Linked DNA regions of Homo sapiens: regions 1, 2, 3, 4, 5 and 6 are each linked to region 7. Evidence: promoter capture Hi-C in 16 types of primary human blood cells and fetal thymus (Javierre and others, 2016). All regions are on one chromosome and are shown on one strand. Each heading gives the region's core, a stretch centred on a gene start or on the middle of the fragment in contact. The rest is flanking DNA. Distances are from core to core; before and after follow the strand shown. Region 1 has its middle 49 kb from the start of VANGL2. Region 2 overlaps VANGL2 (VANGL planar cell polarity protein 2). Region 3 has its middle 3.3 kb from the start of NECTIN4. Region 4 overlaps LOC105371466 (a long non-coding RNA gene). Region 5 overlaps DEDD (death effector domain containing). Region 6 overlaps NCSTN (nicastrin). Region 7 holds the start of SLAMF7 (SLAM family member 7).

Region 1 (3,103 bases), core at 189-2,688, 290 kb before region 7:
TTTAACCACTAACAAGTGGAATCTAGGGTAAAGGGCACCTGTGTGGTATTATAACTCAGGTTAGAATCCAATTCGTTACCTTAGAACCTGGGTTTCCTGACTTTTATCCAGTGATTGTTTCTTGCTTTTTTCATTCTTTTATTGTGAAATATGTCATACACAGACTATATTGGATGAACACACACATTCAGTTTTTGTTGAACCATGCATGTGAAATTGTCAATATTTGCTCAGATTTGGCACGTAACAATAGCAACTTCATGATTTAATATACCATATTGTATTTTAATGAACTATATTAATTCATTCATATGCATATATATATATATACACACACACACACATATATATATATATATATTTTTTTTTTTTTTTTTGAGAAGGAGTCTTGCTCTGTCACCCAGGCTGGAGTGCAGTATGTGATCTCAGCTCACTGCAACCTCCATCTCCTGGGTTAAAGCGATTCTTGTGCCTCTGCCTCCCGAGTAGCTGGAATTACAGGCATGCGCTGCCATGTCTGGCTAATTTTTGTATTTTTAGTAGAGAGAGGGTTTCACCATGTTGGCCAGGCTGGTCTCAAACTCCTGACCTTAAGTGATCCACCCGCCTTGGCCTCCCAAAGTGCTGGGATTACAGGCATGAGCCACCATGCCCAGCCAATTCATTCATATTTAATGAACCTATTTAATGAACTACTATATCCTGGTTTAATGAACTAGTTTAAAGTTAAGCAAACCCTAATATAAGCAGCACACAGTTTAAAGAGTAGAGCATTGCCCTCTATGTGCCCCTCCTCCTCCTCCTTGCCCTCTGTAGATAATACTATGCTGACTTTTGTGATAATCATTTCTTTTCTTTGTAGTTTAACAACTGTGTTGGCATCCTTACAGAATATAGTTAGTTTTGCTTGTTTATGTCTTTATATAAATGGGTTATACTGCAAGTGTTCTTTTTCAAGTTGCTTTTTTCATTCAATATTAGGTTTATGAGATTTTCCAGACTGATGCATGCATTTATAGTTTTAATTAATTAATTGATTTTTATTTCAATAGCTTTGGGGGTACCAGTGCTTTTTAGTTACATGGATGAATTGTAGAGTGGTGAAGTCTGGGCTTTCAGTGTATCCATCACCCAAATTAGTGTACATTGTACCCAATAGATAATTTTTCATCCCTTATTCTCATCCCAACTTCCCCCTTTGTGAGTCTCCAATGTCCATTACACCACTCTCTTAGATTTCCAATCCATGAGCATGAGATGTTTGTTTGTGTCATCTATGATTTCTTTCAGCAGTGTTTTGTGGTTCTCCTTGTTGGTTAAGTATATTCCTAGGTATTTTTTTTTGCTAGCTATTGTAAATAGGATTGAGCTCCTGATATGATTCTCAGCTTGGTTGTGTTGGTGTATAGCAGTGTTATTGACTTGTATACATTAATTTTTGTAACCTTAAGATTTGATGAATTCATTTATCAGATCTAGAGATATTTTAAACAACTAAACTAGATCTACACTTGGATCCAGCAATTCCGCTACTGGGTGTCTACCCAGTAGGAAGGAAAATAAGTCATATTAATAAAGACACTTACACATGTATGTTTATTGCAACACAATTCATGATTGCAAAGATAAGGAATCAACCCAAGTGCCCATCAACCAATGAGTGGATAAAGAAAATGGTGTATATACATGCCACGGAATACTACTCAGCCATAAAAAAGAATGAAGTAATGTATTTTGAAAAAACTTGGATGGAATTGGAGGCCACTATCCTAAGCGAGGTAACTCAGGAACAGAAAACCAAATACTGCATGTTCTCACTTTTAAGTGGGAGCTAAGCTGTGGGTATGCATTTATAGGGTTTTTTTTGTTTGTTTTTTTGTTTTTGTTTTTTTTTTTGAGATGGAGTCTTGCTTTATTGCCAGGCTGGAGTGCAGTGGCACTATCTCGGCTCACTGCAACCTCTGCCTTCAAATGATTCTCCTGCCTCAGCCTCCCAAGTAGCTGGGACTACAGGCACATGCCACCACGCCCAGCTAATTTTCGTATTTTTAGTAGACACGAGGTTTCACCATATTGGCCAGGATGGTCTTGATCTCTTGACCTCGTGATCCGCCTACCTTGGCCTCCTAAAGTGCTAGGATTACAGGTGTGAACGACTGCGCCTGGCCTATAGTTTTTATTGTTGTTGTATGATATTCCGTTCTGTGAATAAATCACAGTGTACTTATTCATTCTACTGTTGAAGAGCATTTTGGTTGTTTCTGGGTTTTAGCTAATTAGCACAACACTCCCGTGAACATTCCTACATGTGTCTCCCGGTGCAGATGGCAGAAATCCCTCCAAGTCTAGTGTACATATTTATGGGTAGATTTACTGAGTGGAAGACAAAGCTAAACCATTTACACTAAATGACTCTGCACCCAGCAGGTACCAAGTTTCCATTGCTCCACATCCTCTCTTACACTTGGCGTTATTAATTTTAATGTGTTTGTCATCTAGGGGTGTGTAGTGATCCTTCGCTGTGATTTTAATGTACATTTCCTGGATTATTAAAGAGGGTGAACAATTTTACGTATCTTCAGTGATCATTTGGATTTCCTCTTTGCCCTTTGGGAAATGCTGTTCATGTGTCTCCCTCTCTCTCTCTCTCTGTGTGTGTGTGTGTGTGTGTGTGTGTGTGTGTTCACAGGAATTCATTACATGTTTCTGGATATTAGTCCTTTGTCAGTTACATATACTGTAAATATCTGCTCCCAGTTGTGGCTTGGTTTTTACTTTCTTTATGGTTTCTTTAAGTAAAAGGATTTTTAAAAATTTAATGTATGTGTATGATTAGTGCTTTTTATGTCTTGTTTAAGAAATCCTTTTTTATGCCAAGATCATGAAGATATTCTCCTATATTGCCTTTTAAAATCTTTGTATTTTTGTCTCTTACATTGAGGTCTTTCATACTCTTAGAATTGAGTTTTGTGTATGGCGTCAGGTAGTGGGAGGAGGTCTAGTTGTTCCAGTGTGATTTATTTTTAAAAATCCATTGTTTTCCTACTGATACGCATTGCTATCTTTGTTATGTATCAGTTTTCCGTGGCTTTTTCCAGTGGGG
Region 2 (3,385 bases), core at 769-3,268, 310 kb before region 7:
ATTAGGAAGTACCCATATACATCCAGCCAGGATCCACATGGAGGACCTTTCTGATGGCTGCAATGACTAGGCCATTCCTCTGAGTAACTCACAGTGTCCTTTTGTAGGCCCTTCTTTTCCCTGAAAGACTGGTTGGTACTTACCTTGCAGAGCACATCCTGGGATAAGATCCCCAGTGTCTCCCCTGGGAGGCTCCCCCTCTGTGTAGCACCAGCCCTGGGAATGATGGAGCCTAGTGATCGGGGTTTCTCCTGCTGTCCTTTCTGCAAAAGTTCACTTGTTTACCCACCGCATGCTAGAGAGGAGCTCATTGGCCAATGCTTACCTTGTCCCCAAAGGGGTGGGTTGTGGAGCTCACTTAGGCAGGGCCTCTGGCTGGGGCCAGGGTTATGAGATAGGCCTGTATGAAATATGTCCTGTTCTGGGGGTCTGTCTCTTTTCTTCTCTTCAAAAACTTTGTGTCAGAGAGTCCCTTCTGAGTCACATAAATACCTCACTATCCTGGAAAACAGGGCCTGGATGGTGACTGGGGTCATTGCCTTTGTGGACAGGATGGAGTGTGGTGTGGTCTGAGGAGCAGGTTGGGGTGGGGGAGAGGGAAAGGATTTGGGATCTTAGTTGCTGCCCTAGGTTAGGGGCTGGGGAGTGTTTATTTTAAGATCCTGCCATGTTTTTAATCACTGTGATTTTTTTTTCATTCCCCTTTCCTAAAAAAAATTTTTTGCCTCCAACTCTCTAAGCACTAAGGGCTGTGCCTGAGAATGGTAGCATTTTGGTCTTTTGCTTCAGAACTGTGGTATCTTTGTCTTTTTTCATTATTATTATTATTATTATTATTATTATTACTATTGTTTTTTAAAATGTCAGGATGAATTGTCAGACATATGGCCATGTGTTTGTCCTCTGCTTCTCCCCTGTGGGAAGTTGTCTCCATGCTGTGAACTGCTGTGGGGTGTGCAGCTGACTCAGTCCCTCTGAGCAGTTTCCCCACTGTGTCTGTCCCATCATGCGCTGGATCTGCTCATTCTCCTGCTGTGGGGGTATGCCCACCTCTTACCCCCTTGACACCATAGGGCTGCTGTGGCTGGGCCTCACCAGCACTGTCTTTTGTGTGACTCATGGCATCCTCGTTCATCCCCACCGTGCCTAGCAGGCCTTCCTTTTCACCACCTCGGAACGCTTGCCTTTCCTCCCTCCACAACAGGACGCTGTGCCTCAGTCCTTCACCTACCTCGCCACTCTGCCACTGTCCCCATTGGTCCTTTCTCCTAAACTGGTCTTTGTGCTCTCTTTGTTTTTTCTTATTTCCCTCTTGTCTCTCATTTTTTCTTCCCATTCCCCTCCCATTTCAGCCCTTAACTTTTCTCTTTCCCATCTCCACTCAGTATTCCAATGGCAAACCCTGATGATGTAACACCTGCGATGAGACATCGGACTCTCCGGAACTTTCTCATCTGACACGTCTTTTTCCCAGGGTTCGTACTTCTCCTCCATTGGTCCCAGGCTAACTCCCCTGTTCCTCTGTGGTGTCTGTCAGTCCGTCTGTCTTCTCTTTCCTCTGCCCTTCCCACAGGGCAGTATCTGCTGATGGATTCAGTCCTGGTGTGTGATTGTTGTGATTTGTTCTTCCGTGCGCAAAAGGAAGAGGGCTTTTTGAGTCCCTTCCAAGTGAGATTGTAAATGTAGAATTTTCCACTGTTGGATCTAGATTTTTTTTCCTTTTTTTTGGGGGGGTGGGGTTACAGAGCTGAGACCTTGTGCATGCATGTAGAAAATTGTAAAATGTAAATTTTTTTTAATATATAAAAAGCTTGTTTCTACAGTTTGCAGTGGATCTAAACATTACGGCAATTTTAGGATTTTTTTCTTAAACATAGGAACTAAAACTGTACAAATTTTTTTTATATAAAATAAAGACATTTGACTTTTGTGGGGGCATTCTGTTGCTTTTCTTTCTTTACAGGAATGGGAGCAAATGAGGGCCAGGGAATAATGAATATATTCCTTGTTAGGGAGGGAATGGGCAGGAGGGGGCAGTGTGAGCTCATCATTGCTCTGCAGGCCTTCAGGGTGTGTTGGAGAGAAATGGGAAAATGAAAAAGGAAATTGCTTATTCTGAATCCTGATTCTAAAGAGAGAGAAACAACAATGTGAGGGCTTAACCACTTCCTGGTGTAGTTGTCAGGATAGAGAAAGAAAGATTACTTCCTGGGTCCACCCTCCTGAGCAAGCTTGTGTCTGTATGGCCTCTAGGGCAGGAGTGGGTTTCTAAAACGTATTTCTAAAACATAAAGTGCCATAGGAATTTCAGGGGATAGTTGAGATTTCAGTCAGTGGTGACAGCCCATCACAATTCATTGAGACAAGTTTCTGTAGTATATATATTAGTTCTAAATATGTAGAGAGTTCAGTGCTCTGTTGTCACTGTAATGCATGTAATCAGGTACTAAAATCACCCTCAAGAGATTGGGTCCCTTCTCCCAGTCTTACCTGGGCCTGACCTCTGTGACTTTGGGCAAGATGCTTAGCATGTAAACAGCCTGCTAAGGTTAAAAACAAGCATTTCTGTATGGAGGTGGCCTATTCACTAGATTTCCTCCTCCTCTCCCCTGCCTCATACTCTGCCAGGCTCTGGGGATGCAAAGGCAAGAGAGGCTCCATCCTGGAGGATGACCCAGTTTACAGGGGTGACAGGCTGGGTGACCCTAGTGCAAGGCTTCATGGCGTGTTCTCAGGCAGAGTGTAGACAAACCCTGGCTGGATTCCAAGGAGCTCGGGGAGTTTCCTTCAAGAAATCTAGGAAGTTTGTTTAAGACTCAAGATGGGGGAACACACTCACCTTGAGATTACATTTTGTTCATCTAAGTATTCCTAGAATTGAAACCAGTTCCTCGCATATAGTTGGTCCTCAATAAAAAATTGTTGCATGAATAATGAACTGAACAACTAACAATACAATAGGGGCTCATGAAAGGGATCATATACTTGCTTCTCCCTTTAAAATTGCACTCCAGTCTTTCTCATGTGAAAACAAACAAAAATACTTCCCTTGAAATTGCATCCCCATTCTCACGGCTCTGTTCTTTCTGTAACTAGGTTTGTAGAATAGTTTCACTTGCTGTTTCCAGTTCATTTCAGAGTCAACTTGTGACTTACATTGTGACCAAATTTCTACCTTAGCATGCCTCTGAAATTATTCTTGTTCTCAACAGCCAAGTATAGTAAACACCTTTTAAGTTTATTCTTTATTTAGTGCCTATGATGTTCCCAGCCTGATACTAAAGTACTTTCTCTGGTAAAGATACTGGATATGGTCCTGCCCTCACTGAGCTAACCTTGGTGGACCCTTGAGAAGGCTAGTTAACCTCAGGGACCTCCTCTTGTA
Region 3 (3,343 bases), core at 503-3,002, 350 kb after region 7:
AAATGAGTTGTCCGGATGAAAAGGATGGTGAAGTCGGATCAGTAAAGCAGAGATCCCGACTGGCTGTGAGTTACTATCCTGAACTAGGGTTGTGACCTGGACTTTACTCCTGTCACTGGACTATGACCCCAACTCTGGCTCTAGATGCCAAATGACCACGGCAGTGACCTCTTCTTCAGGGGCTATTTCCTGCAGGTCAGAGGCCCTTAAAGGCCAGGCCGGTTGCCAGAATTCCCCAGTTTCTCTCCACCTCCAACCCCTTCTCTTTTTCAGGTCCCCACCTGTGCCAGGGGAACAGCCCCACCCAGATGCTGCTTTGAGATCCTCTGTGGCAGGGGTGGAGTAGGGCCAGCGGGAATGGGAGGGGGAGCATCCTGTGTTATAATTATAATTATCACACCTTGGATCCTATCGCATGCTTTCGGAGGAGCTGCTTTCCTTCCCACGGATTCACCCCTCCAGGTACAGGAAGCCACAGGAGAAACTGAGGCACAGGAGTGGAAAAGCAGTTAGTTCACAAGATGGATATCCAATCTCCTTCAGCCTATCCATTCACAGTATACCCCGTGAAAGTGCTACCAGTCAGGATGTCTCTGAACCCCTGGTTGGGCCCCTTAATCACTCACCCTGAACTCTAGCCATACGGAGCATGGAAAGGAGGCAGAACTGTCCAGAGGTGGAGTTAGGGTATGGCTATACTCATTTTTTCATGGGTATGATGCAGCCTTGAAGTAGGCTAAGGGCACCACAGGGCCTGAGAGGGAGCACTAGAGTCCAGCAGCCCACTCCAGGCCTTTGACAGAGTTAGGGATCTCTCTCCTCATTTCACAAATACCTATCTCAAGTCCCTCTGTCCCCTCCTTCCCCTCAGCCCTGTATGTCTCACAAGAGCCATGCTTTTGGAGAATATGCCCTCAAACTTAGGCCTTTCCTACCCTCTCCTAGGATGAAGGCTGGGGAAGGCATATTCTAGGATTGAGACTGGAAGGAAATATTGGATGAGGAAGATTTTCAAGACCAATGCCTGGTATCCTGGTTCGGTTCTCCCTTCCATATTGAATTCCCATTCCCCACATGCCTCACTCCTACCCTCCTCCTACCCACATTGTGGTCGCTAAGAATGAGAACAATTCAAGCCATGATAGTGTCTTTATCATGTGTGTTTGTCTGAGTGACATTGCTGCGTGCGCGCCTGCACCCATGCATTCCTTCAACAGACATTAAATGAGTGCCACTATGTGTCAGGCTCAAGGGAGGAGACCGAGACACATAACACATAGTCCCTGCCCTCAAGGAGCCTTCAATCAGGAGAGGCAGACACAGAAACAACTGTAACATGCTATATCCCACCATCATGTGTTCCCTACGTATCTCTGTACACATACATGCTATGCACATATGTGGGACTGTCTCTGTATGCACAGCAGCGGATGTTCTTCATGATCTGCATGCATCCAAGCATCCGCTTATACCTGTCTCTGTCCCCATGACAGGCTGCACGCCTCAGCCAAACCGGTTGGAGTGGGTTGTGCTGAAATTTTTGTTTGTGTCAATGGGACTTGAGGTGAGTCAGAGAGGGACAAGGATGGGTGGGGTGGTGTGGGGGAGAAGAAGAGTGAGAGTGAGGGTCAGATTGAGTGGGGGAGGGAAGGAGTGGGCCCAGGTTGGAAGGGGTGGGAGTGAGAGTGGGGTGCAGGAGGATGAGTTGGGGGTAGGAGTAGATGAGAGAGCTCCTTGGTGAGTAATATCCTGTCTGCCTGCAGTGAAGTCCCAGGTCAGAGAAGAGTCAGAGGCTGGGGGAGAGTCCCTTGTGCTTAGGGAGAGAGGAGGGTGAAAAATAAATCAGAGTGGAACTAGTTGGAAGCATGAGAGTGGATAAAATATTTGTGATCCATTTCTGTACAGCTTTGTCTCTGTGATAAGCTATTCCTGATCTGCTCATTGCAAACTTTCCGCAGTTTGTACAGAAAGGTGTTGGGGAGCTGATGACGTGGTGAAAGATTACCAATATGGGCCTTGATCTCACCCCCCAGGACCAAGGCTTCAAAGTCACTCCTCCTGCTCCTCCCTAGGATCACCCCTGCTCCATCCCGGGAGGTATGGGCATACCCCCATACAGAACACAGGGGCTCCAGCAGCTTTTCTTCCCCTAGAAAACACCTTTACTCCCCTCCTGATGGAACTTCACTATGCTCAATATTAGGATGGTGGCCTCCTGTTTTCTAGAAAATTACATCAAAACATTGCCATGTGCTATGTTGTTCTTTGCCTATCCTGCAGGCCCACCGATTCCCCAATACCCAGCCCCCAGCCCCATCCTTTAATGATAACCACATTTCTTGGTTGCCTAACAACCCTTGGAGATCAGGGGGCTGAATTTGCTTGTTCCTCGAGGGCCCTAAAGCTGGAGTGTGCCATCCAGGGGAGGAGGCAGCTAAATGCAAGACATGTTCAGGTCCCGTTTCTCGGTAGGTCCAGTTGTGTGCAGAGCCCCATCCTCCTTGCTCTCAACCCATGAACTTCGCAAGTTTCCATGAACACACTACCATGAAATCCAGGACCACAGTATGGGTTAAGGGACAAATATCTTTATTTTGACACTAAGACCCCACTGTGGGGAAATTCTACTCCCTGAAAAGGCCCTATGTATTGAAGCTCACTCAGGTCTTCATCAAAAATTGAGACCTTATGACTGTGCCCGGGGACCCCAAACTGGTGCTATAGTTCTAGAAAGCAGCCAAAGGGAAGAAGTCTGGCCACTTCTGGAAAGTTCTAAAGCTCCTTGCAGGAAAGTCAGATGGCTGGCTCTGGTCAGCAGGAAAAAAAGGGCAGTAACCCAGAGAGAAAAACACAAAAGTCGAAACAGTGAGAGACAGATCTCAAGGCACAGTGAGAAAAATGGAAACTTAAAGACAGAAAAATATACAAATGCTCCTTGACTTTTATGATGGGGTTATGTCCTGATAAGCCCATTGCAAACTGAACATATAAGTTGAAAATGCATTTAATATACCAGTCGCTAGCCCTAGAAAATATCAAAATTTAAAATTCAAGTATGGGTCCTACCGAACACGCTATCATTTTTGCATCACTGTAGTTTAAAAATTATAAGTTGGGTTGGGCATGGTGGCTCACACCTGTAATCCCAGCACTTTGGGAGGCTGAGGTGGGCGGATCATGAGGTCAAGAGATCGAGACCATCCTGGCCAACATGGTGAAACCCCGTCTCTACTAAAAACTCAAAAAATTAGCTGGGCTTGGTGGTGCGTGCCTATAGTCCCAGCTACTCAGGAGGCTGAGGCAGGAGAATCACTTGAACCCAGGAGGCGGAGGTTGCGGTGAG
Region 4 (3,424 bases), core at 791-3,290, 340 kb before region 7:
TTTGTACCTGTTTCCTCATCTGTAAAATTCAGAAAGTCTCTTCCAACCTCAAAATGCTATTATTGAGAAATTACCATACAATTATTATTAAGAAATTGCCATACAATGTCATAAATGCTAAAACAAAGGTATGCAGAGCTTTGAGAGCACAAAGGAGGTTCTCCGGGTGTGGGGTCATCTAGCTTTGCTTGGGAAAATTGGTAAAGAGTTGCAGAGGAGGCCACAGTTCAGTCTTGAAGGATCAACAAAACTTTCCAGGCAGAAAGAAGGAGGAAGGCATTTTAGGCAAAGGAAACTTTGTGAGAAGGCAGAGAAGTAATAGAGCCTCAAATTGGCAGAACAATGAGTAGATGCGTATAGTTTGGATGTACGTGTGTTGAAAGTTTGGGCTTTAAATGCACAGGGAGCACTAGGAGATAAGCCTGGAGAAGGCGAATGAGTTGGGGCCTGAAGTTTCTTATGTATGGTGCCAAAAAGTTTTGACTTTATCTTGTAGACAGTGGGAAGCCATGGATTGTTTTAGGTAAGAGAGTGACAGGCTGATTTCCCTTTCATAAAAATCACATTGGCAACATGGGAGGAAGACGGATTGGAAGGGAATGAGACATGTTTGGAAATGATAAAGGTCTGAATAAGCCAAGGGGATAGAGGTGGAAGGAAGATAATGTTGTTCCTTTTAAACCTATTACATTTAAGATACCCAAGGAATATCCAAGTTAAAATGTATGGTAGGAAGTTGAAAATTTGAGTCTTATGCTCACAAGATAGACCTGGATTTAGCAGCACTCATAAGTGAGTACTGACTGAAGCCACAGGAGTGAATGACATTGCTTTGGAAAAGCATGTGGAGTGGGGAGTAAGGGGGCCAAAGGCTGAATTCTGGGAAATAATAGTATTTGAAGTCAGGAGTAGAAAACACATTGGAAGGATGGCTGGGGTGCAAGGAGCTGAGGAGTGAAGGGAGGAAGAGAGATAGTAAAGAATCTATCCATTTTTTTTTTTTTTTTTTTTTTTTGAGATGGAGTTTCACTCTTGTTGCCCAGGCTGGCGTGCAATGGCACGAACTCGGCTCACCGCAACCTCCTCCTCCTGGGTTCAAGCGATTCTCCTGCCTCAGCCTCCCGAGTAGCTGGGATTACAAGCACCTGCCACCATGACCGGCTAATTTTGTATTTTCAGTAGAGACGGGGTTTCTCCATGTTGGTCAGGCTGGTCTCTAATTCTCGACCTCAGGTGATCCACCCGCCTCAGCCTCCCAAAGTGCTGGGATTACAGGTGTGAGCCACCAGGCCTGGCCTAAGAATCTACTCTTTTAAGAAGGTTGGATGAGAAAGAAATAAAAGCGAAGGCTAAAGCAAGAGGAGGCTGCTGAGTGGAGGAAGGTATTTCATTTTATTATGTCTGCTGGGCAAAGATCAGTGAAGAGGCCGAAGTTGGTTACAGGAGAGATTGTGAATAATGGATGGAGGTGGGAAAGGACAGGATATAACGCACACCTGCAGGGCCTAGTCCCAGCCAAGGGAGCTGGAGAGTGTCTATTCTTCCCAAGAAGGAGGAAGGAAATCAGAAAGTTTCATTCAGTGGTTCTCACATTAAAATCACTGAGGTATCTTAAAAAAAATGCCAATAGCTGGGTCACACCTCAGAAGTTTCTGGTTTAATTAGTCTGGGATGGTCCTGGGCATTGATGTGTTTTCAAAGCTTCCCAGGTGATTAAAATCTGCAGTCAAAGTTCACAACCACTGGTTTAATTGCAGGTAACATTTTAGATTAATGATAATGGGATTGGATTTGAGGAAACTCACACTTAATAAAGGTTGGATGAATAGGGAGTGGTCAAGGTTTCATAGATGAGGAAGGGAGAAAGAGAAGGAAGCTAGAAGGGAAGGCAGCTAATGCTAACTTATTGAATTTTATGTGCCAGAGATATAGAAATGAATGAGGCATGGTCCTTCTTCTTAGAGATCAGGATCTCACATGACAGACACTTCACCACAAGCCTATGACATAATACAGTTCTTGACCAGTTAAGTTTTTTTGTGTGTGAGCTACTTTTATTCTTTTTTTTTTTTTTTTTTAACTAAAAGTGAAGGGGGAAACCCCTCACACCCAGAACCCAGGTATTTCCCAATATAGACTGGGTCTGGAAATCCTTTTGTGAGCATTGAGAGTAGCCTTTCTGGGAAGGTGGGTGCTGGGGAAAGATCTGTAACTATTCCGGGAGATCAACTTGTACCCAGGCTCATCAGCAGGGCTGGAAGTAGATGGTGATTGTGGCCCTGCATGTGGGTACATTACTGCAGTCACCTGTACCTGGGAGGTGGCTAAAATTGCTAATTGCTTACATGGAAACACTTTGATGGCCATTCTGCTATAGTGTGAAGCTTCTATGAGTAAGGTACCAAGGATTCCCTTTCTCTGAGCAGCATTGTAAAAAGGCCCTACTTTTCATCAGAGCAGAAAACCTAACTTTTGCTACTGTGGTCTGGGCCTGACCTCCAGGGACAGCTTCATCCACACAGGAAGTAGGTAGGTGCTTCTCTATAGTCTGGACCTTCCCTCAGAGAGAGTCTACTGTCACTTCTTGAGTTCCTTGAATCTTCCCCAGGAGGGTCCAACTCCCAGGGCTCCTGGGAAGCCTCTGATCTGACCCCACCAGCCCCACCTCCACCTAGTGAGCTGGTGAGGTGTTGAAAGGGCTTTAATGGAGGGCCCTGGCTTTTAGCTAGGGGCCTCCTTCCCCGAGGAAGAGTACTGAAAGAAGTGTCCTAGAGAAGTGTTCTCTCCTAAGAGAAGTATCCTAGGCACAGAACAGAGAGGGGAAACTCGACTGGGAATTGACTGTGGCACTATGAGTATATGGAGGGTGTTCCTTCTGTTACCTCATTAGACCCTTTTTATATAAGCAGAAATTGAGGCTTGAAGAAATTAAGAAATTCGACTATGTCCTCAAGGACAGGAGCTGTACAAAATCCAATCTGTTCCATTCTATTGTCCCTCAGGCTCTTGGCCTCCCTCTGTTATTGTAGGTTGGCCCCTTTAGGAAAATCTCAGTTGAATGTCATTTCAGTGCTCTCCTTCCTTCTAAAGAATTAAGCTAGGTCCCTTAGACCATAGGGCACATGGGCCTTCTAGCTGGGTCTCTGTTTGCTTACTCAGTGACTTGGGGACGTGTGAAATCCAGATGGGATTCTATCCTGAGGTGAAGGTAGAAGGTAATACAGAGAATTGCTGAATGGGACAGACCACACCAATAAAATTTTTTGTTGGACTCTGTAATCCAGTGTTTTCATTGCAGAGATGTAATTGAAAGCCCCCAACCTCACCGTCAGAGAAAGGAGGGACTAAGCTTATTCTAGCCTGATGCCTGATACCTGTTAATTGGGAAGCCTTGTCTGTTAACATCCTGACTTAGGTTTCAAGC
Region 5 (3,357 bases), core at 814-3,313, 390 kb after region 7:
GAGACACTCAAGGGCAGGAACTAGTCTCATGCATTCCCATATTCCCAGTTGCTAACAATGCCTGGCACAGTATAGTGCTTTATACATGTTTATTAAATTTTTGAAGTGTTTGTTTAAAAATAAACACTGGCCAGGCACAGGGGCTCACACCTGTAATCCCAGCATTTTGGGAGGCCAAGGCAGGAGGATCACTTGAGCCCAGGCGTTTAAGACCAGCCTGGGCAACATAGGGAGACCCGTTTCTACAAAAAAAGAAAAAATTAGCTGGGCTTGGTGGTACACGCCTGTAGTCCCAGCTGCACAGGAGGCTGAGGTGGGAGGAAGGCTTGAGGCCAGGAGTTCAAGATCAGCCTGGTCAACATAGCAAGACCCCATCTCTACAAAAAAGAAAAAAATTAGCAAGGCATGGTGGCATGTGCCTGTAGTCCCTGCTACTCAGGAGGCTGAGGCAGGAGGATCACTTGAGCCCAGGAGTTCAAGGCTGCAGTGAGCCATAATCCTGCACTGTAGCCTGGGTGACAGAGTGAGTCCCCCATCTCGGAAAAAAAAGAACTAGTTTAAATTCTGACTGTATCACTGAAAGGCTGTGTAGCTGTGTGACCGTAAGCAAGTCACTTAACTCCAGATTCTCAGTGCTGTCATCTATAAACAGGGATGAATGAATATACACCTCAGAGTTGTTAAGAATCCAATGAGAAAATCACGGGTAACCCTTATATAAATGGTTGTGAAACATTTCAAAGATACAAGCATCCTTGGCCTTTGCAGCCCAGAATCATCCCTCCACATTTTTCCTACAATCCAACCACATCAAGAAATGATAACTGCTCAGAAAGTTTATCAATATTTACCAAAACTCATGGATTTAAAATAAACATTAAGTTTCTACAATAAGCATTCTTGTAATTCTATGCCATTTGTACTCCCTTGATCTTCACCCTATTTGGCAATATCAACTTTTTTTTTTTGAGATGGAGTCTCACTTTGTCACCCAGGCTGGAGTGCAGTGGTGCAATCTCGGCTCACTGCAACCTCCGCCTCCCAGGTTCAAGCAATTCTCGTGCCTCAGCCTCCCAAGTAGCTGGGATTACAGGCACGCACCACCACGTCTTGCTAATTTTTGTATTTTTAGTAGAGATGGGTTTTTACCATGATGGTCAGGCTGGTCTTGAACTCCTGACCTCAGGTGATCCACCCACCTCGGCCTCCCAAAGTGCTGGGATTACAGGCGTGAGCCACCGTACCTGGCCTTGGCAATACCACCTTCTAAGCTTTCCTCATGGATGTCATTTACCAATCCCCTATCAATGACCAATCACAGCTCCACATTCGTTATATAGTTTGGCTCTTGATTCACAAAGTTCCTCCATCGTTATGGGCTACAGGTAATACCAATGACGCAGCCATTAATCAATTCCCAAATTCAACAACTTTGACTCAAGTCACTCATACTTACTGCTCCACCAGACAGTACCATCCTATACTGTGCACTCTCTGGTCACACTCTCCAATCACACAATCAATCCTAAATTCCTGTTAATGCTACTTCTAGATATTTCTTAAATCTATCCTACCTTTCCACCTCCACTGCCATGGTTCAGATTACAATAATCTCTCACCTGGACTACTGTAACTTTAAAAGTTCTCTGCAACACCAATCTTAACCTACCTAAATCCATCCACTGCCACATCTAGTTCAGTTAGCTGTCTGAAGTCCACAACTGACCAAGTCACTTTCCTGCTTCAGACCCATTGATTGCCCCATCGTTATCTATAAGAACACTCCAAACTCTTTTTTTTTTTTTTTTTTTTGAGACAGAGTCACTCTGTCGCCCAGGCTGCAGTGCAGTGGCGCGATCTTGGCTCACTGCAACCTCCGCCTCCCAGGTTCAAGCGATTCTCCTGCCTCAGCTTCCCGAGTAGCTGGGACTACAGGCACCCACCACCACGCCCAGCTACTTTTTGTATTTTTAGTAGAGACGGGGTTTCACCATATTGGCCAGACTGGTCTCGAACTCCTGACCTTGTGATCCGCCTGCCTCGGCCTCCGAAAGTGCTGAGATTACAGGTGTGAGCCACCACGCCTGGCCGAACACTCCAAATTCTTTACACACACATCAAGCCTTCTAAGATCAGGCCTACCTTCCCAACCTCATTTCCCATCACATCCGCTTTTTATTCTCTAACATTATCAGTTTGTTTATAGTTCACATACATCATGCAATTTCTCTATACCTTCTTCAGGCTCTTCTCTTTGCCTGAATGCCCCTCTCCCTTCTCTATTCCACACCCCCATCATCACTCTTTTTCAGATGGCTAACTCCTACTCATTCTTTAAGAGTCAGCTCAGATGCCATCTTCAAAATGCATTTTCTACACCCCCATGCAGAGATAAGTAGTCCTCTTCTGTGCGCTTATGGAACACTATGCATATCTCCTTTACACCATTTATCACCATGTACTAAAATTATTTGTGTATTTATTATCCCATTAGATCCTACTCAACTCATGGAGAGATATATTCATCTTTATATCCCTAGTGCCTAGTAATGGACAGAGCCTCAAATATAGTGGGAGCAACCCACTGTTGAACTGAACTTAATCTCCAAGAGATCACCTCAAGCAATTCCAATTAAGAAACAAATTCACAAAAGTCCAAGAGAGGACCCCATTAAAAACAGATACAGGTAATTCAGTTACCATGCATATATTCTAACTAGCCATAGCCTCCTCTGCAATGTCCAGAACTACCCACACCATACCACACCACTCTACCCTACTCAACAATTAAACAGGTTGCTCTGTCCATTTTATACAAAAAGGAACTGAGGCTAGACTAGGAAACAATAAAATAATAAGCTTCTTTGGAAAAACAAAGCTGATAGAGAAAGCTGAAGAGTAAGTAGGAACTGGTCCTTTCTTCCTCAGATGAAAAACTAAAATGAAAGCACAGAGAAACTCATTCCCTTAAGAAAAGGGGAGGTACACTCTGGGATCACTTAACCCTATACCATGGGTTCTGATATGTAGACAGGAAATGTAATCCATATATAGTTTTGAGAGCCCAGATGCCCCACCCAAAGCATGGGAAATAGCTATTCAACTATAGACTGGTATTCCTTGCCTCTTCCTCTCGATTCACCTGTTGCTGTTACTGGGTACAAATGAAGGTGCTAAAGGAAAATAAGTTATTGCTCATAGCAGGCAACATGAGAAAACTGAGCCTCCTCAGAGCCCCTGCAACTTCTCTTTGTTCCCTATCCCACCTGTTCCCTTGGGCCAGCTGTTGATTGTGAGGCTCTCAGATAAAGCAGATTGGGTAGGTTTCACATTAAACCAACCAGAAGAGCTGGTTGC
Region 6 (3,311 bases), core at 289-2,788, 390 kb before region 7:
CTCTTAGTCCCAACTGAAAGATTCTTCTGCCGTCACCTGGTTCCTAAGTACTTGGTGTCCCAGTAACCAGTCCCCCTATTCCCCATCCTTCCCTTCAGGTGTTTACTCCAATTCCTATGGGCCAGAGTTTGCTCACTGCAGAGAAATACAGTGGAATTCGCTGGGCAATGGTTTGGCTTATGAAGACTTTAGTTTCCCCATCTTTCTTCTTGAAGATGAAAATGAAACCAAAGTCATCAAGCAGGTAATGACACTGCCAGCTCCTAGCAATTCCAGTTAGAAAGAAGATTATTTTTCTAGCCAGGTGTGGTGGTGTGTGCACGTAGTCCCAGCCACCCGGGAGGCTGAGACAGGAGGATCACTTGAGGCCGGGAGGCAGAGGTTTCAGTGAGCTGAGATGGCACCATTGCACTCCAGCCTGGGTGACAGAGCAAGGCCCTGTGTCACAAAAAAAAAAAAAAAAAAAGGATTATTTTATAGGCTCTCCTATTTGGAGGGTGGCTCATTCTTCTGGTACACCTGCTGAAAGACGGTTGCTCCAAAAAGAACCAAGACGTTAGTTCTTCTCACATTCTTTCCCCACATTTTGCTCCTACCTGATATTACAGCATTAAAGCCTTTTAGACTAGAAGAAAATATAAAGAATATCTGAAAGAGTAATATGAAACAAGGTACACAGCCCAGGTTAAGAACCACTAGTATCGTTAAAAAAAAAAGCATTGGATTAGAGATTGAGAAATTCAATTTGGTAATTTCTGAGCTTCTTTTTAGCTCTAATATGCCTTAATTCTGGTCTAGTATTTCCATTTTGACTCATAGAGTAGTTAAGAGATTTGTCCAAAGTTGTATGGTGAGTTGATCTCCAAGCTGTGTCATATCTGATTTCCTATCTCTAGTTTGGTGCTCTTTGTATCAGACCACACTGAATCTTTTCAGTGGCTGAAGCTTCAAATTGGGCCAGGCCATCTGGAATGGGATAGTTTCATCTCCAGCTAAACCACTGAGTCTGCAACCCTTTGTAACTCTTGATGAGTTTTTTTCTTTGACCTTATAGATCCTATGGTGGTTCTAGGATAACTATAGCTCAGGGATAAATGTCTCCGAAAAGGGTGTGGCTCCATCCCAAAAGGATGGAACTGGGCCCTCCTCCTTCTGGGATGTAAGGGAGGGCCTCCACAAACTAGCTGTCTCAGTGGGGTCCATCTCCCCTTTCAGTGCTATCAAGATCACAACCTGAGTCAGAATGGCTCAGCACCAACCTTCCCACTATGTGCCATGCAGCTCTTTTCACACATGCATGCTGTCATCAGCACTGCCACCTGCATGCGGCGCAGCTCCATCCAAAGCACCTTCAGCATCAACCCAGGTAGGGCAGATCCGAACCATGAGGGTAATGGAATAAGGGGCAGAGGGAGAGTGGAACCAGGCCAGGGAATGTTAGAGAGACTGTAATAGGGAAGGAGTAGACACCATGAAGGAGCTCTGCATGGGAGAACTAGAAACAATTCTGAAAAATTTAGGCAGCTTGTTCCTAAAGTGGATAGTGGCAGAGAAGCCAACCTCGGACTGTTGGAAGTAGAGAAAACGACTTAGAGTCCGTGGGGCACTGGTCAGAGATTTCCAATGTTGCCTTTATAGCTACCTTCTCCTTTAGCCTTGTTGATCTCTCATTGTTTGTGTCCTGCTTAGAAATCGTCTGTGACCCCCTGTCTGATTACAATGTGTGGAGCATGCTAAAGCCTATAAATACAACTGGGACATTAAAGCCTGACGACAGGGTTGTGGTTGCTGCCACCCGGGTGAGTGTTGGCTTCTGATCAGGATGGGCAGGGCTGGCACAAAAAGAGCTGGTAGGCCCCGCTCTAGCATATCAGATTTCAAAGTTGCTAAATTGGGAAGCCTCAAATGGGGAGGAATCTGGGCTGTGGGACTCCTGGGTTGTCTCCATTGCCACAGGACAGGTATATTCTCTTGACTGGAGCAAGAAAGGAGGTTTGGGGCCAGTTTTAAAGTATATATCCCCTGACTTTTCTTCTGTTGTACCTAGCTGGATAGTCGTTCCTTTTTCTGGAATGTGGCCCCAGGGGCTGAAAGCGCAGTGGCTTCCTTTGTCACCCAGCTGGCTGCTGCTGAAGCTTTGCAAAAGGCACCTGATGTGACCACCCTGCCCCGCAATGTCATGTTTGTCTTCTTTCAAGGGGTAAGGGCTCTTTGGCTGGGGTGCAATGGCAGGGAAGAAAGAGGATAGTAAAGATGAGAGTGGCTACTGGTTGGAGAAGACCTCAGCACTTGACCTAAGTTGTTAACCAGCACAGAGCTTCTGGATGTGTCTACATGTGTCTCCCCTTTAGATTCCTCCATTTTAGGAAGCTTAGATTCCTTCTTTTTAGGAAGCTTTTACACCCTGAATTGGTATGTAACCAGCCCCCTCTTTCCCCCACTGATAAGATATATTGGAGGCGGCCTTTTACTTTTATTCTCTGGACTCCTTTACTGCTATCTCCATCCAGGAGCCGTTAGGCTCCTGACTCTCATCACTAGGACCACAGCAGAATAAGGGAACAGCATCTGTGGCTGAGTCACTGGAGGTGGGGGACCGTTAAGAATCAGACACATAATAGCTGATGTTCATCTTAGACCTTTACTAAGGCTACTTTCCCCATTTCTGGGCTTCAGAAGTCTTGTAATACATATGAGGGATAGTCACAGCTGGGAGGTGGGGCCAAGAGAAGCCGAAAGTCACATGACTGTAAGCTGACTAGCAGTTGAGGTGACCTGAGATAGTCGTCTTACCTACAGCTTTGATGATCTGGCCGCCTTCGAGGCTCTCCTAACCCTTTGGAATCTCTGTTCCCCCTCCCACCTACCTCCATCTCTCAGGAAACTTTTGACTACATTGGCAGCTCGAGGATGGTCTACGATATGGAGAAGGGCAAGTTTCCCGTGCAGTTAGAGAATGTTGACTCATTTGTGGAGCTGGGACAGGTATGTGGCATGTCCCCCAGCCCCTTCCTTTTTAATTAAATCTTCCTCCTTTGTTGTTCTGCGGTCTTAACTGCAGGAACCACCGCCTCTTCCCTTGACTTCTATCCCCTAGGCATGGCCCAGAACAGGAGACTGATTCTAAGTGTTGTTTCTTCATCCTCCCCCCAGGTGGCCTTAAGAACTTCATTAGAGCTTTGGATGCACACAGATCCTGTTTCTCAGAAAAATGAGTCTGTACGGAACCAGGTAACCTGAGCATCTCCCCTCATTTCCTATTCCTACAGCTCAGAATCCAGACCCCAACCCCTGCCCTGTTTCCACCAACC
Region 7 (3,119 bases), core at 620-3,119:
AAATGATTAAAGAAGAAAACTTGAAGGCTGGGTGTGGTGGCTCATACCTGTAATCCCAGCACTTTGGGAGGCCAAAGTTGGTGGATCACCTGAGGTCAGGAGTTTGAGACTAGCCTGGCCAACATGGCGAAACCTGATCTCTACTAAAAGTACAAAAAGTAGGTGGGCATGGTGGCATGAGCCTGTAGTCCCAGCTACTCAGGAGGCTGAGGCAGGAGAATCGCTTGAACCCAGGAGGCGGAGATTGCAGTGAGCCAAGATCATGCCACTACACTCCAGCCTGTATGACAGAGCAAGACTTCGTCCAAAAAAAAATAAAAAGAAGGAAACTTGAAACATTAGAAATAAAGAAATAACAATGAAAAGAGTTAAAATATGGGTAAATGTAATGGATTGTCCTTCTCCTCTTGAGTGTTCTGAATTATGTTCAACAATTGAAGCAAAACTTATAATCTTACCGATATGGTTCTCAATGAATATAGACAATATATTTAAGACAAGTATAAAGATAGACTAATAAAGAAACCTAATATAGGTAAGTTTTCTATACCTAGTTCAACTGGTAAAATGTCAACACTGATAGGTAGATCAAAAGTTATGTATGTAAAATGCAATATGTACAGCAACCAGTAAAAAAACTCTTCAAAAAGATACATTATAGATAAATCAAAATGGAATTATAAAAAATATTCCAGTAACACACAGGATGGCCAGGAAAGTGAAACAGAGGAACAAAATAAACAAACAAAAGCCCAGAAGAACAAAGAGAAAATAATAACATGGCAAACTTAAGCTCTGATATATAAATAATTACATTATGTAAGTCAGTTAAATAGAATAGATAGCTCCAGAATATACCCACACAAGTATAAGTGCTGATTTTTGATAAAGATACAAAAGTAATTCAATGTAGGAAAGATCATCTTTTCCATCACATGGTAGTAGAACAATTGAACACCCACAGGCAGAAGAAAAAAAAACACGCACATTGTAATCATACTTCTGAAAACCAAAGGCAAACAAAAAACTTTTAAAACAGCTAGAGAAAAATGACACATTACCTATAGGGAAAACAATTTAAATGATGGCTGATTTCTCACTGGAAACCATGGAGGGGAGGAGTGTCATGACACTTTTCAAGTGTCGAAAGCAAAAAAAAACTGTCAACCATATTACCTGATATGGTTCTCAATGAATATAGACAATATATTTAGGTGAATCTCAACCTAAACTTCACACCTTACATTAAAACAGGATCATACATTTAAATGTAAAACATAAAACTATAAAACTTTCAGGAGAAAACCTTTGGACCCTAGTGTGGGTAGAAAAAAAACTGATAAGTTGAATTTCATCAAAATTAAAATTTTTGCTCTGCCAAAGACCCCGTTAAGAAGATGAAAAGACAGGCTACAGACCAAGAGAAAATATTTGTAAACCACATATCTGACAAATGACTCTTATACTTGGAACATATAAGGAATTGTCAAAGCTCAACAGTAAAAAAAATAAAGAATCTGATTATAAAATGGACAAAAGACATAAATAGACATTTCACCAAGGAGGATATGGATATATAGATGGCAAATAAGCACATGAAAAGATGTTCAACATTATTAGGCTTTAGGGAAATGCAAATTAAAGCCACAATGAGGTATCACTACAGCACCTATTAAAACAGCTAAAATATAAAATGGGAATATACCAAATGCTGATGAAGATGGGGAGCAAATAGATCTCTCATAGATTGCTGGTGGCAAGGTAAAATGCTCTATTCACTCTGAAAATAATTTAGCAATTACTCAATCTCACATGTCTGCGGCGTGACCCCTCCTGCTTCTTTAAATATCAGCTGGGGAAGAGGTCTGAGTAATACCTAAGAGGGAAGTGGCTTCATTTCAGTGGCTGACTTCCAGAGAGCAATATGGCTGGTTCCCCAACATGCCTCACCCTCATCTATATCCTTTGGCAGCTCACAGGTGAGTCCGGCCGGATTCTCTTCCACTCTCCTGTCTACCCCATCCTGAATAGTTCCAGGTTTCTTGTTCCACTCTGGGCCTCTGGCTCAACTCGGGAGGCTCTGTGTTCTCATCTAACATTTGCTTTTTATCAATCTCTGATCTCTGATTCTCAGGTCAGGAAGAGACTAGAGAGAGGGGGAAAAATGGCTCTGGGAACTGACTCCCCTGTTGACTGTCCCAGGGATGAAGGAGCTGAAAGAAGTGGTGCTGGGTATCAGAGACCATTTTTCTAATCCAGGTTCTGCCATGAGTTAGATAAGGAATGTTAAAGTTTTCCTGGGCCTCAGAAACTTTATCTTCTAGCCTTCTCTCCTTTTGAGGGCAACTTTAAGAACAAGATGATACTATACAGGTATGTATTTATTTACTTATAAATGTATTTATAAAATTGGTTATGCATAACAGTAATATAAATGGAAAGAATCACTTGAATTTTCTTTCCTTACTCAAGCAATGTAATCAGTCTCTACTTAGAGAACCAACTCATACCATAGGCACTTTATGTTTAATCCCATGGAGGACAGAGGACAGTTCTCCACCTGTCACTGGTATTCTAGTCTTTGAAGATTTTTCTATCCTAAGGGCTCTCAGAAAGGATCAGGAGCCCTATAAGTGAGAAATATCTCTTCTGTCATCAATCTCATGGAGTACTACCATGAGGTCCCCCTATAAGGACTTCACATAACTGCTTCATTATGTGTATCTGAGCCTGCCTGGAGTGATCTGCCCAAGACCACGCAGGCAGCTGGTGCCCCCAATATTTTCCCCTGCATCGCTAAGTGGTCAGCATCAGCAGACTCTTACCCACTTTGAATTCATCAGAAGTTTGTATTTTTGAGAGGTACCTGGGTCTAACCAGGTGGTTCTGGAATAGGCCCTCACTTTAAAAAAAAAAAACAAAAAAAAAACTCCCTGAACGGAAATGATGAGCAGAAATAGAACTTGAGGGAGATAAGGTGGAGGGGTTGGGGAAAATTATAGAGACTTTGAAAGCTACAGGTGTCCATCTGAAATCAGTCAGCGAAAGAGCACAAGTATGAAAAACTGCCATGCAGGTCCCCCTCTGCCCTCCTCCAGAGGCAGCCTGTGTAGTGTACC

Evidence for each region. Contacts are between HindIII fragments. The CHiCAGO score rates a contact against its expected background, and 5 or more counts as called.
Region 1: a fragment that was not itself captured here is called in contact with the fragment with the promoter of SLAMF7 in region 7 in 1 of 17 cell types (fetal thymus); the score reaches 5.4 in fetal thymus.
Region 2: a fragment that was not itself captured here is called in contact with the fragment with the promoter of SLAMF7 in region 7 in 8 of 17 cell types (activated CD4 T cells, non-activated CD4 T cells, total CD4 T cells and 5 more); the score reaches 8.7 in activated CD4 T cells.
Region 3: a fragment that was not itself captured here is called in contact with the fragment with the promoter of SLAMF7 in region 7 in 6 of 17 cell types (total B cells, naive CD8 T cells, total CD4 T cells and 3 more); the score reaches 9.0 in total B cells.
Region 4: a fragment that was not itself captured here is called in contact with the fragment with the promoter of SLAMF7 in region 7 in 4 of 17 cell types (non-activated CD4 T cells, total B cells, total CD4 T cells and 1 more); the score reaches 7.0 in non-activated CD4 T cells.
Region 5: a contact is called between a fragment that was not itself captured here and the fragment with the promoter of SLAMF7 in region 7, in 1 of 17 cell types (total B cells). The highest score is 5.9, in total B cells.
Region 6: a contact is called between a fragment that was not itself captured here and the fragment with the promoter of SLAMF7 in region 7, in 1 of 17 cell types (activated CD4 T cells). The highest score is 7.0, in activated CD4 T cells.

What each region holds. Positions count from the first base shown.
Region 1 is chr1:160,447,961-160,451,063 of GRCh38, forward strand. No RefSeq gene overlaps it. Among named protein-coding and RNA genes, the nearest start is that of VANGL2, 49 kb to the left of the region's middle. The HindIII fragment of the contact is 4,867 bases long and covers 1-3,103 here.
Region 2 is chr1:160,426,741-160,430,125 of GRCh38, forward strand. It overlaps VANGL2 (VANGL planar cell polarity protein 2), which reads left to right. Exons shown (of 8, transcript NM_020335.3): 8 at 1-1,930. Among named protein-coding and RNA genes, the nearest start is that of VANGL2, 28 kb to the left of the region's middle. RefSeq lists an enhancer at 3,128-3,357. The HindIII fragment of the contact is 421 bases long and covers 1,809-2,229 here.
Region 3 is chr1:161,091,175-161,094,517 of GRCh38, forward strand. No RefSeq gene overlaps it. Among named protein-coding and RNA genes, the nearest start is that of NECTIN4, 3.3 kb to the left of the region's middle. RefSeq lists an enhancer at 1,602-1,701. The HindIII fragment of the contact is 3,929 bases long and covers 1-3,343 here.
Region 4 is chr1:160,395,242-160,398,665 of GRCh38, forward strand. All of the region lies in intron 3 of LOC105371466 (a long non-coding RNA gene), which reads right to left. Among named protein-coding and RNA genes, the nearest start is that of VANGL2, 3.6 kb to the right of the region's middle. The HindIII fragment of the contact is 683 bases long and covers 1,700-2,382 here.
Region 5 is chr1:161,124,552-161,127,908 of GRCh38, forward strand. The region is part of intron 2 of DEDD (death effector domain containing); the gene reads right to left. It also overlaps a transcript of NIT1 not described here. Among named protein-coding and RNA genes, the nearest start is that of DEDD, 6.4 kb to the right of the region's middle. The HindIII fragment of the contact is 1,588 bases long and covers 1,270-2,857 here.
Region 6 is chr1:160,350,007-160,353,317 of GRCh38, forward strand. NCSTN (nicastrin) reads left to right here. Exons shown (of 17, transcript NM_015331.3): 5 at 99-244; 6 at 1,216-1,366; 7 at 1,690-1,799; 8 at 2,048-2,200; 9 at 2,881-2,985; 10 at 3,154-3,231. Among named protein-coding and RNA genes, the nearest start is that of NCSTN, 8.3 kb to the left of the region's middle. The HindIII fragment of the contact is 1,190 bases long and covers 944-2,133 here.
Region 7 is chr1:160,737,378-160,740,496 of GRCh38, forward strand. It overlaps SLAMF7 (SLAM family member 7), which reads left to right and starts at 1,870. Exons shown (of 7, transcript NM_021181.5): 1 at 1,870-1,979. The coding sequence starts at 1,925. LOC124904440 (a long non-coding RNA gene) reads right to left here and starts at 1,782. Exons shown (of 2, transcript XR_007066687.1): 1 at 1,706-1,782. The HindIII fragment of the contact is 11,353 bases long and covers 1-3,119 here.